2 separate regions of the Homo sapiens genome follow, and region 1 is linked to region 2. The links are contacts of gene promoters, found by promoter capture Hi-C in blood cells and fetal thymus (Javierre and others, 2016). All regions are on one chromosome and are shown on one strand. The core of a region is centred on a gene start or on the middle of the fragment in contact, and the rest is flanking DNA. Distances in the headings are between cores, read along the strand shown. Region 1 has its middle 23 kb from the start of TBC1D2. Region 2 holds the start of FOXE1 (forkhead box E1).

Evidence for each region. The method cuts DNA at HindIII sites, captures the fragments that hold promoters and counts their contacts. A CHiCAGO score of 5 or more calls a contact.
Region 1: a fragment that was not itself captured here is called in contact with the fragment with the promoter of FOXE1 in region 2 in 4 of 17 cell types (activated CD4 T cells, total CD8 T cells, naive CD4 T cells and 1 more); the score reaches 6.6 in activated CD4 T cells.

Annotation. Positions count from the first base shown.
Region 1 is chr9:98,275,803-98,281,614 of GRCh38, reverse strand. No RefSeq gene overlaps it. Among named protein-coding and RNA genes, the nearest start is that of TBC1D2, 23 kb to the right of the region's middle. RefSeq lists an enhancer at 1,191-1,876. The HindIII fragment of the contact is 5,565 bases long and covers 413-5,812 here.
Region 2 is chr9:97,851,702-97,857,199 of GRCh38, reverse strand. FOXE1 (forkhead box E1) reads right to left here and starts at 3,974. Exons shown (of 1, transcript NM_004473.4): 1 at 483-3,974. The coding sequence starts at 3,285. The coding sequence ends at 2,164. It overlaps PTCSC2 (papillary thyroid carcinoma susceptibility candidate 2), which reads left to right and starts at 4,120. Exons shown (of 11, transcript NR_147055.1): 1 at 4,120-4,284. RefSeq lists an enhancer at 5,006-5,498. The HindIII fragment of the contact is 6,931 bases long and covers 1-5,498 here.

The DNA.
Region 1 (5,812 bases), core at 1,946-4,445, 430 kb before region 2:
TGCCCCTGTACTGCAGCCTGGGCCACAAAGTGAGACCAGGTCAAAAGAAAGAAGGAAGTAAGGAAAAAAAGAAAGAGAGAAGGAAGAGAGACAGGAAGGAAGGAAAGAGGAAGGAAGGAAGGGAAGGAGAGAGAGAGAAAGAAAGGAAGGAAAGAAAAAAGGAAAGAAAGAAGGAAGGAAGGAAAAGAAAGAGAAGAAAGAAAAGAGACATATGGACACCTTTTTAGTGTTGAGTTAAATTGTTTTTATAAAGAAAGTTACTGCAGTGAGCTCTGATTGCACCACTACACTCCAGCTTGAGCAAAAGAGTGAGACCCTGTTGAAAGAAAGCGGAAAGAGAGAGAGACATATGGACACCTTTTCAAACTGTGTTGACTTAAATTATGAAATGTGCTCAAACCAGATATAAGCTTAGGCTTACAGCATTCATATAAAATCCAAACAAAATAGCAAAGCCAATAAAAATCATGTTAACAACATGGATGGAATGGGATAGATGAGGTTTTGCCGAAAAATAAGTGGCAGCTCACCACACGAGCACAGCTCTGACTGCTGCCGGGCATGTTCCTGTGACTTCAGCCAGCCTGGTGTGATGGCTCAATTATCACACTGCTTTTCTTTATTTAAACTTCTGTGAAAACTTCATTTATTCAGCATGCTGCAATATCACTGGGCTGTCCCTGGACTCTAACATATCACTTCCCTATTAAGGCCACCTTTGTTTGTTTTCTCTCATGAGCCATTGACAATAGTGGGGCCATCTGATAATACACACAATTGGAGTCGTGATTGAGTGCAGATGCCCATTAAGCCCCAGGCTAAGTGCTTTGCAAGCATAATCTCATTTAGCTCTCACAGGGACCCCAGCGCAGAACCGATCATTACCACCCTTCTGCAGCTAAAGGCACTCAGGCACAGCGGGTGAGTGCTGTCCTGGGTCACACAGCTGGGATGTGGAGTGAGTCACAATTTGAACACAGCAGCCCGATCCAGAGTAGACCACCTTTACCACTTCTTTAAACCCTAGTCACAATTAGCCGGATTCAGATGACCCAGGATATGCTTTTTTTAAAGATTATCTTGAAATAAAAATCCCTCTTGTTTTCAGTTTATAGAAGATTTGCAGACCCCCAAGATTCACCAAGGGCATCATCTGAGGCTCTAGGCCCCAGTCTGAGAGCCTCTGGCCCAGGCAATGTGACCATGAGCAAGCCAGTGGCTCAGAGCAACGCTGGGAGATACACTCCAGGCCCCTGGGCTCCTCAGGTTGACTCATAAACCAGCCCCTGGGAGATTCTGGGCCTCAGGGACACCTGGTTTTGAGGGCAAGGGAGCCTGGGGGAGCAGGGGCAGCTCCATGTTGAGCAACAGTGACAGTGGCAATGATGATGGCAGTACCAGAGCTCCTGGGCGGCTATGACAACAGACACCTGCCATGGCTGTGGTGGCCACAGCTCTGAAGGCACCAGCCCCTCGATGGGAGTGGAGGTGGAGGTGGGGAGTTGGTCAAAACTAACTGAAGAGGTAGGGCGACCTCCACATCAGGAAGGATGCCGATTCACTCAGGGCTAGAGGCTGGCAGCTCTGCCACAGCAGAGAAGAACCTATGCAGACACAAAATCCTATGCCCAAGTTGCCCATTGACTAGATGCCCCCATCCCAGATCTTCACCCTGGGCCACTCAACCAGGCCTCCAGGATCTAGCAGAAGGACTCTGCCAGCATCTCAGGGCAGGGGAGGCAAGATGGAAGGTGTTCACCCCATCTGCAAAGAAAAGCCAGTTCTGAGTTTTTTCTGTGAAATAAGAGATTACAGACAAACGACGAGAAAATGGACTGAGAAGAAAAAAGGGAAGAAAGTGGGGAGGGAAGAAAGGAGGAGGGAGGGAGGGAAAGTTTTGAGATTGGAGTAGTGTCAGAAACCTGCACATTCAACTCCTCTCTCTTTAATTCTTGCTACAATGGCCCAACCAATCAGAGCAAATCCATATCCTCTTCCATAAAGATTATTCTATCTAGATGGTCTCTGAAAATTAGAGAAAGTGTCCCACGCACATCTCTAAAAGCTCAAGTCATTTCCACCGCTCAGGTAAAGGGTGGAGGGAGGAGAAGCAGCTGCAGGCCACCATCTTCTCACTAAGCGTGGAGAAGACCACCTGGGGTTAATTCAAACTCAGTAGTGCAAAAGCCAAGTAGTCTTGGATTTGATTTTAGAGCTTCCATTCTGAGTTCAAAGGACCTTCAGATGTGGGCCGGTATCTCCATGCAGGAGCTGCTGGAAGTCATAATTTCACAGGACTTCTGCAGAACCAGCGCTCCAGCATCCACTTTCTCTCACAAGTCACCCCCACCACAGGGAAGAAGAGGAGGCAAGTGAGAGCAGAATTCATGAGCAGCAGCCATCTCTTCTCATCCCATGGGGGAGCCGGGAAGGCTTAAATAAGTTCCCCTCCCTCCATAAGATCGGGGGTAGCTTAAGTATTCCTCCAGACCCTTTCCCCTTCACCAAGTAAGGGACTGGCAATGCCTTTCATCTGAAAACTTCAGCGCCATTGAACTGCCCAATGCCCAGGCCAGTGTTGCTGGCAGGTCGAGAGAGGGCTGAGCGGAAGAGAGGAAGACTAGGGTAGCCAGTGGCATTCCCACAGGGTGGCTTGGCAAGGAGATGTGGGTTTTCCATGGGTTGTGTGGGCACTGAGGAAGGTTGGGAGAATTTCATCATCCTAAGAGGCTGAGGAAAAAAGTAGATGGATGAAGTTCAGTCAGAACTTGCTCACCAGAGGATTGTGTCAGAAGGACCCACTGGAAAGCCAGCACTCAGACACCTGCCTGGCAGAGGAACAGACAGCCAGATAGGAACAAAAGAAGTGATGCCAGCAGAAAGAAGACTGTAACCTCACGCAAGGAGTCACAGAAAGCAGTGTTCTGATACCTCTCCCCTCTCTTGCCTCCTTTCCCTGATATCTCAGAGAAAATAGAGAATGGGAGAGCAAACCTCATCACCTCCCTCCCTGCCCCAAGTCACAGAAACCTCAAGTGCCTGCCTGGGAAGAGTGCACTTTTTTTTTTTTTTTAAACATCCAGAGACTCTTTACTTTTTGTGGCTTTATTGAGATAGAATCCACATACCACACAATTCACCCTTGTAAAGGGTGCAATTCAGCCAGGCATGGTGGCTCACACCTATAATCCCAATGCTTTGGGAGGCCAAGACAGGAGGATCCCTTGAGCCCAGGAGTTTGAGACCAGCCTGGACAGCATAAGGGGACTCCATCTCTACACAAAATTTAAAAATTAGCCCGGCGTGGGGGATGCACGCCTGTAGTCCCAGCTACTCAGGAAGCTGAGGCAGGAGGATCACTTGAGCCCAGGAGTTTGAGGTTATAGTGAGCATGATTTTGCCACTACAACAGACTGAGATCCTAAAAAAATAAAATAAAATGAATTAAAGTATACAATTCAAATTTTTTAGTATATTCACAGATTCATACAATCATCTCCACAATCTAACTTTGGAACATTTTCATCACTCCAAGAAGAGTTAGCTGACAGTCCCTATTTCTCCCCAAGTTCCCCCAGCCTAAGCAACCACGAAATCTACTTTCTGTCTCTGTAAGTTTGGACATTTCACATAAATGGAACTTGCAATATGTGGTTCTTTGTGATGGGCTTCTTTTACTTAAGATAATGGGTTCAAAATTCATGTGTTATCAATATGAATGCAAGATAATGCATTCATATTGCAGCATGGATCAGGACTGCCTCAACTTTTATTGCCGAATATAGTCTATAGTATGTGTATACATTTTACTTTATGCAATTATTATCCATGTTATCAGTTAGCAAACATTTGAGTTGTTTCTACTTTTGGACTATTATGAATAATGATATTATGAACACTCAAGTTTTTGTGTGGACATAATGTCTTTGTTTTTCTTGGGGATATAACTAGGAGTGGAATTGCTGGGTTGTATGGTAACTCTAGTTTTAACTGTTTGAGGAACTGCCAGATTTTTCCACTGCAGCTACAACATTTTACATTCTCATCAGCATGTATGAGGGTTCCAATTTCTCCTTATGCTTACCAACATTTGTTATTATCTATTTTTAAAAAAAAATTCATAGCCATCCTGGTAGATGTGAAGTATCTCATTGTGGTTTTCGTTTGCATTTCCCTGATGGCTAAAGATATTGAGCATCTTTTCATGTACTTATTGGCCATTGACATATCTTCTTTGCAAAAATGTCTGTTCAGAGCCTTTGCCTTTTATTTATTTATTTCTGGAACGGGGCCTCACTTTGTCGCCCAGGCTGGAATGCAGTGGTGTGATAACAACGGCTCACTGCACCCTAGAATTCCTGGGGCTTAAAGGAATCCTCCCACTTCAAATTCCCGAGTAGCTAGGACTGCAAGCGCAAGCCACCACTCCCTAATTTTTTTAGTTTTGTAGAGACAGAGCCTCCCTATGTTGCCCAGCTAGTCTCCAATTCCTGGGTTCCAAGCAATCCTCCCACCTCAGCCTCCCAACGTGCTGGGATTATAGGCATGAGCCACTGCACCCGGCGCCATTTTTAAGTTGAATAATTTGAATTCTTCCTATTGAGATGTAAGAGTTTGTTATGTATTCTAGATACAAGTTTCTTATTTGATCCACGATTTGCAAATATTTTCTTCCATTCAATGGGTTATCTTTTCATGTTATTGAGGGTGTTCTTTAAAGCATAAAAGTTTTTAATTTTGATGAAGTCTTACTTTTTTCTTTTATTGCTTATGCTTTTGCTGTCATATCTAAGCTCAAATCACAAATACTTCTGTTTTTCTTCTGAAAGTTTTTTAGTTTTAGCTCTTACATTTACAATCCATTTGAGTTAATTTTTGGGTAAGGTATGCGTAAGGAGTGCAACTTCATTCTTCTGCATGTGGGTAGCCAATTATCCTAGCACCATTAATTGAAAAGATAATTCTTTCCTCCACTGAATTGTCTTAGCATCCTTGTGGAAAATCAATTGACTATAAATGCAAGGGTTTATTTCTGGATTCTTAGTTCTATTCCATTGATCTAGATGTCTATCATTTTGTCCAGTGATTCTTAGTAACTGAACATGAAGGGAGAAGCCTGAGATATTATTAAGGGAAGCTACAAGTGGGAAAGAAGGTTCCACAGAGTCCAACTGGTCACTGGGAAAAAGTCCATCATTTCGCATTTGTGCCTCAAAGAGTTAAGACTCCTCCAACCACTTCTAGTGAAGGAACATTCCCAACCCGTATCATGTCTGCTTTTCCAAATGGGGTACATGGAATGATCCATTTCCCTTAGCTGCTATCATAAATGAGTGTTGCATTTTCATAAACTATTTTTCAGCACTGATTGTGATTATTCTCTTTTAATCTGTTAATCTGGTGAATTACATTATTAGATTTGCTAATAGTAGATATATTTGATGCTTACATTTCTAGGGTAAACCTAACTAGGTCATTTTTTATTTAATACATTACTAAAGTATGCCATTATTTTGTTTAGGATTTTTGCATCTAAAATCATGAATAAATTTGATGCTTTATTTTTTCTTTTTCATTCTGGCTTTGGAATCAAGGTCATCACTAGCCTCGTAAAATGATTTGAGGGGATGTTGCCTCTTTTTCTAATCTCTGAAAGGGTTTGTATAAAATTAGAATTGTCAGTTTGTTTGTTTTTAATTGAGATGGGGTCTCACTATGTTGCCCAAGTTGGTCTTGAACTCCTGGCCTCAAACGATCCTCCTGTCCCGGCTTCCCAAAATGCTGGGATTACAGGTGTGAGCCACCATGCCTG
Region 2 (5,498 bases), core at 2,725-5,224:
AAACTCCTGGGTGGAGAACTCTTACTTTCCCATTCTTCTCAACCAGGCAAGTCATCCTGACCTCTGCACCTGGGACAGCCAGCTTGTCTAGCTGAATGAAGGAGAACCCTTGAACTCCATACCTGCAAAGATTCTTAGGGAGAGGAGGGCGGCCCAATACCTGCACTCTTCAAGGTCACAAGGCTGGGTCTGGAATTTGGGCCGACGGGTGGCAGGGTCAGCGCTCAAGTGCTTCCAGGTACCACCACCAAAGCCAGGAAGGGCCAGCACCTAGACCTGCACTGCACAACACAGTGTTGCTACTGAACACCTAGCAGGTGACTAGTCCACATTTAGAGAAGCTGTAAGTGTAAAACACACTCCAAATTGTAAACCCTTCATGTAAAAGGAGAGCAAAACATCTCAATTTTTACATTGATTATATGTTGAAATCATAATATTTTTGATATGTTGGGTTAAGTATATCATTCAAATTAACCTCACCTGTTTCTTTTTACTTTATTAATGTGGCTACTAGAATATTTAAAATTACATATGTGGCTTGCACCATATTTCTAATGGAGAGCACTGGTTTATACAAATCCCCATTTGGACTGAACCAAGTTCACATGTCTTCGTGAACAGGATAGTGCAGTCCCAAAAATAAAAAATAAAAATTACCAATGGTTTTCATACAATCTTCTTTTTCACACCCCAGCCCTTCCCTGTTAAGTTTATACAGAAAGAGGCTGAGTTTCTCTTGCCATAACTCACTTGCTCAAAGATTTTTATTAAAACAGTCCATCTGAACACTCCAGTTTATCTGAAAGCTGTGAATGGAGCCTCTGAAATATTTAATGCTGAAAGTTTTTGCTCCAGAATCGAAACTTAAAGATTTCTCAAGGGAAAGGGGGAGAGTTATTGGACTTTCTCTAATTTTAGTGAGCCTGCTACTTAAGCAAGATACAAAATGAAGTTAAAATTCCAGTTTCTTTCTAAAGCTCACTTTACTGACTGCCCTAACTTAATTTTTCTCTTTCCTTTTTGCATGGGGGAGGCTGCTGAGGTGTAGCAGGGGGTGCTGGGGATGGAAGAGCCCTCCCCAGCTACTGAAAGGCGTCACCAACGGGCTCCTTGAATCCTCTCATCTCCTTAAACTTTAGTTCACCCTTTGGGTCCAGGGCTGCGTGATGACAAGAAACAGTGGACAAATGAACGAATGTACTTCTCTCTGCCTTATAATGGAAAAGCAGATTTATGACTGGGCAGTAACAGCCATGAAATTACCAGCACGTCCTGCTCAAAAGTTCAATAAGTTATGATATAATTGCTGCCTGGAGCCAATCCTGGGACTTTAGGTTAGACGCTTGGCCATGAACTCTTTTCCGTTCCCTAGAACAGCGGCTAGGCTTTGGGTGGCTACTCAGAGGCCCTGGGTGGCCCACCATTGCTGCCAAATACGCAGGGCAGCATCCAAGATGATGGGGCCCTGAATGATAACCCGGGGGCGGTGGATAGAGTCCTGCAGCCCTCTAGTGTAACAGATGGGGGAGACTGAAGGTTCAGGTGATGGGACTGGAGTGCTGACGCACAGTTCAACTCGGAGCTAGGTCTCAAGTTCTCAGAGACAGGGAAAACCAGCCCAGGTCAACCAGAGCAGAGATTTCTCCAATTTAAAAAAGAAGAAAAGCCTATTTCTTTTGCAAATTTGTCCTCCTCACTTTAAGAAGAAAGGCGCTGCCGCAGCCTTTTATTGTAGTAACGCAGTTAAAGGCACTAGAGGACGAACCGCGTAAAAAGGCCCGAGTTCCGGCAGCACATGGAAGGCTGAAACTGATTCCCCACAATTTGGATCCTGGTCTCTGGTGTTGACACTACGCTGCCCTCTGGTTACCGCCAAGGACCCTCCCCGATAGAATACCAGAAAGCATCCCGTTTGAGGGCTTCGCTCCATCGAGGGTCCCTGTGCCAGTCCAAGGGCTCTGGCTGCCTCGCCCCACCTCCTCCCGTTTACAGAGTACACCGGGTGCCTACGCTGTGCGCGGGGAGACCGAGCCTCTGTGGCCTGCTCGGTCTTTTCCACGTGGGTCCCAGTTGAGTCCTCTCTCCATTCCTGTTCGTTCTCAGATTGCGGGGAACGTGTGAACAGCCGATGTGTCTATGAGTTTTCGTCCCTACGCTGGCTCACATGGCGGACACGAACCGATCTATCCCACCGGGATAAGCGGCAGCATGGCGAGCATGGTAGGCGCCTGCACTGGCCCCTCCGAGCTGCCCGCCAGGGTTGTAGCAGGCTCCCAGCGCTCCGAACTGGCCGGGCGACGTGCGCCCGTAGAAGTCCACCGTGGTCTCCACGCCGCCACTGCTGCCGCCCGCTGGGGGCGAAGCGGGTCCCGCCAGGCGGCCAGCAGCGGCAAAGATCGCACTGCCGGCGCCCTGCGGGTACGCGCCGTCGGGGCCCGCGTAGGCAGCCGCATAGGCGGAGGGGTTGGCCGGCCGGGCCCCGGTGCAGCCTGCGGGCTGGTAGCCGGTGGTGGTAGCGGGGGCGCCGGCGGAGGCAAAGGCGCAAGAGCCGCCGGGCCCCGACGGTGCGGGCCCCAGCTCTGGGCTGAGCGGCCGCTCAGGAACCAGGCCGAAGACGCGGCAAGGGCCGGGCGACGCCGCGGGGTAGTAGACTGGAGGCGGCGCGGCCAGCGACGGCGGCGCGTAGCCTGCATAGACGGCGCCCGGGTAGGGGGGGCGCGCGGCGGGCACCGCGCCTGGGAAGATGGCGGCGGCGGCGGCGGCGGCGGCGGCGGCGGCTGCGGCAGCCGCCGCGTCGTGCATGTAAGCCGGGTAGGTGGAGAGGTCCGAGCGCTTGAAGCGCTTGCGGCGGCGCAGGAAGCTGCCGCTCTCGAACATGTCCTCCGCGTTGGGGTCAAGCGCCCAGTAGTTGCCCTTACCCGGGCGGCCGGCCTCGCGCGGGATCTTGAGGAAGCAGTCGTTGAGTGTGAGGTTGTGGCGGATGCTGTTCTGCCACTTTTTGGGGTTGTCGCGGTAGAAGGGGAAGCGCTCGGTGATGAACTTGTAGATGCCGCCCAGCGTGAGGCGGCGCTCGGGCGCGTGCGCGATGGCCATGGCGATGAGCGCGATGTAGCTGTAGGGCGGCTTCCCGCGCTGCAGGGGGCGCTTGCGGCGCCGCCCGCCCGCCCCGCGGCCCGTGGCCTCCCCTGGGACCCCGGCCCCTGCTGCCGTCTCGCCGCGCTCTTCCTTCACGGTAGCCAGCACCTCCGGCTGCGGCGGCGGCGGCCCGCTCTCGGCAGTCATGGCGCGGGCGTCCCGCACCCCCGGGCTCTGGATCCCCGCGGCTGTCGGGGGGCGGGGGCGGGCCTGGCGTCCCCGGAACGGACGCTCGGCCCTTCTGCGGAGAGCTCAGGGGATCGTCGCGGGCTGGCCCCGAGAGCCCAGCGGCCCAGGCTGGCACGCGCTGGAGGCTCAGCGTCCGTGGTCTGGGGCTGGCGCGGTGCAGACAGAGGCTCGGGAGTGACCCGCTAGCCGACGGCTCAGCCCGCGTGGTGCTTCTCGAGGCGGGCAGCGGCGGTGGCCTCGTGACCGGGACTGGACTCTGGTCTCCGGCTGAAGGGTCCCTTGCGCGCTGGTGCCGGGCGGTCGAGGGGTCCGGAAGTGATCCCTGGGTTGGGGTGGCTGCAGCTGGTCTGTGGTGCCCGCTAGTTTAGGATTACTGCCTAGGTTGTGCGCGCAGAAGAGGCTTCGGGCTCGAAGGCCAGAGCGAGGGCAGTTAGTACTGGCGCTGGGCGATCTGGCGGGGGCCGCCCATGCCCTGCCCCCGAGGCCAAGGTGGCCGTAAGCGCCACGGGCAGAGAGGCGAGGCGGGGGCAGCGAGGTCGGGGCGCGGGCCCAGGCGGGGCGACCTGAGGCTGGTCCTCTCCACGGCGTGGGTCTCCAGCCCTGCGGACCGCTGGCGAGGCGCTCCCCTGCACACACCGGACCGGCTCCTCCCTCCGCCGGCTTCCCCTCCTTAAAGGGGCCACGAAGCGTGGGGCGGCACCGGTTCCCTGCCCGCCCCCCGACTGCCCGCCCCCCGGGGCCCGGGCGCACCTCCCCAGGTAGGAGCAGCTGTGGCGGCGCGGTAGGAGCCCCACAGCGTCAGGGCGGGGAGGGCGCTTGGAGATCCCCCGGGTCGGCCCCCTCCGCACCCCGATCGACTGAGGCCCGGAGAGTTCAGGAACCGGCTCGGGAGACCTCAGCGCCCGAACTCGGAGTTTTCGGACTTTTCAGGCCTCTGCCAAGGGCTTGGACTCGCAGGTGAAAGGACGGGCTCATCTCACTTTTTTGTCCTGAGAGGGTGAGAATTGGCCGAGAGGGCGCTTGGTTTTTGTGGGAATGGGGAGGGAGAAGTTCCAGGAGACTGGCTCCCCGGGCCTTTCAGGATGGTTTCCAAACCCCAATCGTGGCTGCCACAGCCACTCGGCACTCCAGTCCCCCCATCTTTCGAATGAGTATTCCTAGGCCCGAAAGGGAAGGTGACTTGCCATGGCCCCACTGCGGCTTCTCCGCTTAGCGGAGTCTCCAACCTGCGTCTCCTTTAGGACTGCGCTTCCCAACTGTGTGGTAGAGGTAGCCGCTTTCCCTTTTTGGGCCCCAGGTCCCTCGACTGTACCGGGGTCTGGATCTCTCAAGAGTCCTTGCGTGGTAGATATTTAGGGATAGGCCAATCACCACCCCCAATCATCCGTCTTTGAGAGGCCCAGGATCTGTCTCTATTTGATGGATAGTGGTGCACGGATTAAAGACGACGCAGGATAGGTAACCTCCTCCTCCAATCCCCCGGGACCAGGGTAGCTCTGAAGACCCCCAGAGGCAGCCAAGCAGCCCCTTCCCGCAGCGGGGAGTGAGGGCTGCGGGTAATGGGGGAGTGGGAAGAGAGCGGTGGCCGGGTGGGCGCGTCTCCGGGGGAAGGGGCGGGCAGTCGGGACACGTTTGCTTCATGGGTGTCCAATTTCTGAGTTCCTTTCCTGCTGTCCCTGAGCCGGAACTTGGTCCTAACCTGAGATCCTCGCGGCGCGGCCCCTCTGGCCCGGGTTCGTTCCCTGGCCATTCACTGGGAGATCCAGGGCCTGTCCTTGTCCCCTCGCAGGGCCTCAGTGTTCTACTCTGTTAAATAGCAGCTGGAGGGCGTGTGCTGATCTCCGAGGCCCCTGCTACGTATAGGATTCCGGGCCTTGGCGCGGGTTCCAGTGGCTCCAGCCCGGACGCAGCTTTCCGGGGTGGGGGGGGGGGGCGGGCCGGGGCTGTGGGTGCAGAGCCGCGCGGATGGTGGTGCCAGGTGAGTGTGGGAGATCCCAAGACGAGAGTTCTGGCCAGTAACGGGTGGCATGCCTTCCAGGGTTTTAGTCGCGTTCTTCGTGGCGGTGAGCTGAGGGCAGGCTAAGCCCGGCCAAGCGTTGGGCAGCTGCCTTCGGAAGAGCGAGGCAAAGCCCAGATCCTTGCTCCGTCGACCCGGTGTGTGGAAACGCTCA